Linked DNA regions of Homo sapiens: region 1 is linked to region 2. The links are contacts of gene promoters, found by promoter capture Hi-C in blood cells and fetal thymus (Javierre and others, 2016). All regions are on one chromosome and are shown on one strand. Each heading gives the region's core, a stretch centred on a gene start or on the middle of the fragment in contact. The rest is flanking DNA. Distances are from core to core; before and after follow the strand shown. Region 1 has its middle 30 kb from the start of LINC02202. Region 2 holds the start of CLINT1 (clathrin interactor 1).

The links. The method cuts DNA at HindIII sites, captures the fragments that hold promoters and counts their contacts. A CHiCAGO score of 5 or more calls a contact.
Region 1: a fragment that was not itself captured here is called in contact with the fragment with the promoter of CLINT1 in region 2 in 3 of 17 cell types (total B cells, naive B cells and fetal thymus); the score reaches 10.2 in total B cells.

What each region holds. Positions count from the first base shown.
Region 1 is chr5:159,129,625-159,132,324 of GRCh38, forward strand. No RefSeq gene overlaps it. Among named protein-coding and RNA genes, the nearest start is that of LINC02202, 30 kb to the left of the region's middle. The HindIII fragment of the contact is 2,746 bases long and covers 34-2,700 here.
Region 2 is chr5:157,857,895-157,860,594 of GRCh38, forward strand. CLINT1 (clathrin interactor 1) reads right to left here and starts at 1,251. Exons shown (of 12, transcript NM_014666.4): 1 at 1,036-1,251. The coding sequence starts at 1,076. RefSeq lists enhancers at 881-1,462, 1,300-1,539. The HindIII fragment of the contact is 1,599 bases long and covers 1-1,417 here.

The DNA of each region.
Region 1 (2,700 bases), core at 157-2,656, 1.3 Mb after region 2:
GACAGAGAAGGTCTCTGTTCTCATGGAACTTAAAGCTTAGTTTCATGGGAAAGATAGACAAAAAGTAAACCCCAAAAAAGTAATTTCATATTGCAATAAAGAGTATGCAGGGTGGCAGACAGAGAGAAGCATTGAGTACGAGGGCCTTGAGCTTGATTTGTCCGATTAGGTCTCATCTAGAAGATGAAATTTGAGCTGAGAACTGAAGGGTGAAATAGAGTCAGGCATGTAAGGATTTGGGGCAAGCGCAACCCAGCAAAATAAAATAGCTAGTTCAGAGCTCCCAAAAATATCTAGAGAAGGAGAGAGCAACTTGCAAAGAGAGTTTGACTTGCAAGCTGACATCAAACATCTGAAAGACGTGCTTTGGATGAGCTCAAGAATGTGTAGCCAGGATCAGTAGAGGAAAGCCATGAAGGGTGTGGGTGGCTGAGCTCTCTTCAAGGAAAGGCAGGATTTGCAACCACCAGATCTTCTCAAGAGGCTACTTGAAGAGTCAGCACAGCCAATATCACTGAAAGTGATTCTCACTCTCTTGGTAAGGTAGTGGCCACATGTTTTTTGGCCATTCTCTTTCCCTTGGGGAACAGCCCTCAATTTTCCCTGTGAAGAATTACCTCTCCTCTATTGTGGCAGCCTTGACTTAAACAGTGACACTGGCCGAAGGGTGGTCACACACCTAAGATTGTCCAGATGGACTTTCTTCCCCAAGACTCTCTTCTCTGCAGTGGTTAAGTATGGGGTTGGGAAGACTATGCAAAGCTGACCACCCCCCGTGGTTGTTTCAATGGCAGCCTTATAATTTCTATGTAGAAGGGATGGGGCTGGCAGTCTGTTGAGGGCAGGATTTGGGGGACCACTTTAACCTATCTTCGTATAGCATTTTGCATAAAGGTAAGAAAGCTCAACTTCTCACACAAAGAATTAGGGTAGGATGGAGGGGTTTAAAGTTCCTCCAAATATCCTCAAATATCTCCTTGGAGTCACCACTGGGTGACACCACTGGTCAGTGCCTGTCACCTAGATCCCCAGAATCTTCATGGTTCCTGAGTCGTCCTAGCCTGGTTCTTCAGCTGCCTTTTTATTTCTGGAGACCCCCTTTCAATAACACAAATACCCTTTTTGGTTTAACTTGCCCAGAGTTGGTTTCTATTACTTGTACCACAGAAGGCTGATAGGGGATGGGGACGGACCCAGGCCCTAGATGAGATGAAGGAATTTTTAAAGCCTCTTTCATTGCTGTGGTTTTAAGATAAGCACAAATATAATTAGGCCTCTCTCATAGGAATCAATAGTTATAGATGTACTGGAAAGACAATACTTGGCTCAGTATCTTAAACAGACATGTTGGCTCTACACACTTGCAAACAATGAAATCAAGTATAATTTGCAGCCCTGGGGATATAGTTCCAGAAAGAGGCTCAAAGTACACTTACCAGTGGTATTCAGAAAGCCACGGAAGGGGACTCTGCCAGAACACCATCGTCCGCAGGCTGATGTCAACACATAATAAAACAATAGAGTGAACATTGGGGGAGGGAGGAATCTGTAACATAAAGAAGATAATGGAATCATCAACACTGATCAGCATCAGGAACAAATGGGGCTGGAGGAAACCTGAAGAATTCTTCAGAAAATCTCAAGTAAGTCTGCCAGCAGAAACTAACCATGCCTCACATTTGATTTCCACTGGTATATTTAGTATATTTCATGAAGTTGTGTAATATCTGCCCACCCTGCTTTGAATTTCAGCATAGTTACAGTGATGAAAACTAACAAAAAACAAACAAAAAACCCCCAAGAGATTCTTACTCTGATTTGGGGGTGGGGCCTGGGGGGTACAGTATAGTTCAACATAATTTGTTATAGAAAAAAAAGTTTCTATTGATTCATAATCAACCTTTTCAATGATGATTTTTTTGGGGGATGTGATCTCTCTGGACTTTTTTTTGGGAAAACATTGTTTCCTGCTAGACAAAGAGCAGTCTGTTTTGAACAGTGAAACTGACCTCTCAGCTTTTGAGTTTCTAATAGCAAATTAAATCTACCTCACCAGGAAAAGAAAATTATGAAGAGGTAACTTTTATAATGCAGGAAATAATTGGTGTATTGATCTTTATGAATTTCCTGATTTCTTTACCTTATAATGGTTTTCCTTAATGGCAACACATGCATTAAGAAAACAAAGCACATTTGATGGAAATTCGTTGTCTTCCCCTTTTTAAATTATTTAGTAACATTGGGCAGCTAAGAAATTGTTTCTGCTTCTATAAAACCCCCTATGCTAATTGTGGCCAGCAAATTAGTAATTATAATAGATGATACAAAGCAGGAAAGGGCTAAACTAATGTTAGGGAGTAAAGAATGCAATTAGATGGCTCAGCCTAACGCATCTTCACTCTGAATCTCTGTGAAGAAGGAAGAAAAAAGCTCTGCACCAAAATTAAAGGGGACTCGTTTTCTGATTGTGTCCTAGGGGATTTGGAGAAAGCTCAAGCAATTTGAAGGATACCCTCAGGTTGTACTCAGCAGAATTCCTGACCTCTGCCACATCCTATCTATCATGAGCCTTTATCAGGAGGAGATGGCACATCACAAGCCATTTGGTGGCACGTAATTGCTTCGACATTGACAGCAGAGGGGTATATATCACCTCCTCTGTTAAAAAGAGAGTGAGTGTTTTAAGTGGAAGAAGACTGA
Region 2 (2,700 bases), core at 1-2,500:
TGATTTTAGGTTAGGTGGGTGGCACAAATCAACTGTTTTTCTCACCACACTTATTGCATAATCATTAAAGCCCCAAAGGAAGAGGACTGCTTAAATTCTTAAACTTTATTTCCTGCTGGCCTAGAAGACCTTACTTAACCACTGTTATACCTGATATACTCATTTTAAAAGTTAAGGTTTTCCTTGTGCAAGTAAGAGACTAAAGTTATTTCAGTCTTAAAGGAAATCAACTACGTACTGGTCGTTTTACCTGCTTTTAAAAGCAGATCAACAGGATATAAACCTGGGTTGTTTTTTTCCTTAAGAGGACATTTCTTAATGACCTCTTAATTTAATCGAATGGAACAAGTAGCACACCAAAAATGATGTGTAGTGGAAAAAGAAACAGAAGAAAAAATCGCAAGAAGTCATATAGTGATCTACTTTCACTAGTGTTAGAAAAGCAAAGGATGAGTGTCTTCTTGAGTAACTTCAGGCTGACCACAATAGCCACTTGTTACACTACTACCACCCACTCCAACACTTCAGGTTCATTAGGAATTAAGAGGAGGCAAGGAAGATAAAAGACACACCCCAACCAGGTCTAAGGTCTCTCCGTACTACACCTTGAGGGACACAGGGAACCAGTGCATTGTGCCCCCCACCCCCAAACCTTCCCTGCTCCCCAGGAGGCAAAGCCCACGGCCTGGGGCCAAGACAGTCCTCCGGCCAGGGCAGTGACCCAGCGCCAAACAACCCGCCCCTTATGACCAAAGCGTCGGCACCCAGGGGTTGGAATAGGGGAAGGGACGGGAAGGCCTGGAAAGGAGAGAAGGGTGGCCAAGAGGATGTTTTTTTTTAAAACGAGGGAGGGTCCCTCCCCAGCCTCGCCAGCGGGGATGAGGCCCGGGGCCGGGAAGGAGCGGGCCGCCGCCATGATGGGGCTGGCAGAGCCAGGGGGCGTGACGTGGGCAACCCCTAGCCCAAGGCCAGCTCCTTCTCCCCCTCCCCCCTCCCCCACGTGGGCCTCGGCCACAACTGCCCCCCGATACTCACGCTTTGTCCACCAGCTCGCGCACCTTCCACATGTTCAACATCGTGCCCCGCGCGGGACGGTCCGCCGCCTCCCTCTCCTGCTCCCCACGGACCCCGGAACACTTCCGTACCGGGGCAGTTCCAGGCCGGGGTCACCGCCGCCCGCCGCCTCGAACTCCCCCAGTCAGCTCCTTCCTTTGCCACAGCAGCGGCGCCGCCGGTGACACGTCGAGACGCGGCAGCACAGGCGCTGCGTGGAGCGGAAGTGTCCGACTTTCCGCCGCTGCGCGCGGGGCACGCCGGGACTTGTAGTTTTCCCTGAGTGCCGAGCTCGGCCGGTTGAGTTGGGAGAGCTGAGAGGTTGAGTTGGGAGAGCTGAGAGGAGTTGGGATGGTTTCTCTTAAGCTTTCCCAGTCCCCGGCCCCAGACCTACCGAGCCAGAAATTTTGGAGGTGGGGCCCAGCGATCTGTGCTTTTACAAATCCTCTAGGTGATTCTGATCACGCTCAAGTTTCAGAACCACTGGTGCAGGGTCTAGTCACACTCAAACACTTTTCAAATGTAAGGCAGTATTACTATGTTATTAGTAATGATTATACAGAAGTATGATTGGCATACGCATTCCTCATCGACAGACACATCGCTGTATTTATTTCCCAATGCCCAAGTACACTTAGATCTCTAGGCCTTAGTTTCCACCCCTGTAAAATTGAAGAACTTGTATTCTAAATCCTTTTCCGCTCTAATTCTATGATACAATGTTTTATATTTAGACAACTACCTGAAATCCTTGTTAAATGCTTTACTATAAACCTCAGAAACTCAGTTCACACTCCACGGGAAACTAAAAAGCCAACATTATATATACACGCACACATACACATACATATGACAGGTTTGTGTTTTTTAAGGATAAATATGCACATTGCTTCCATTGCTTTGTTGCAATGGTTGTCATCACTTCCTTCTCTACTTACTCATTTTTATCAATGCTCATGTTAAAGCTACAAGCAACCTTAAGTTTCATTTGATCCATCTGCTGAAATTTTACAGTTCTTTTCATTCTACAAATATTTATTGAGCATCTTGTATGTTCCAGAAGTGGGGAATATAGTTAAAGACCCAGCTCTCTTGGAATTCAAACGTAATTGGAAGAAACATATAATAATCAAGGAAACATTTAAGATAATTGCATATAGTGTAATTGCTTAGCGGGTTCTTTCTGCCCACTTTACAGATAAAGTCAATTCACTGCGACCAAGTCATTGCAGTGAAGAGTTTGACATGAGGCTGGCCATGCCACTTGAGAGACAGAGTTATTACTCAAATCAATCTTCCTGAACATTTGGAAGCTAGAGTTTTTCAAAGATAGTTTGGTGAGCAGAGGGTTAGGGCATGGGTGCTGCTGATTGGTTAGGGATGCAATCAGAGGAGTATGGAAAATGGTTCTCCTTTGCTGAATCGGCTTCTTGATGGAGGGCCAGCAGAGGAGTGGCTGGTCTGGGTGGGGTCATCCGTTTGTCAGAAATGCAAAAGCCTGAAAAGACGTCTTAAAAGGCCAATCTTAGGTTCTACAATAGTTCATTACAGGCCAGGCACAGTGGCTCACGCCTGTTATCCCAGCATTTTGGGAGGCTGGGAGGCCAAGGCAGGAGGATCACTTGAGCCCAGGAGTTTGAGACCAGC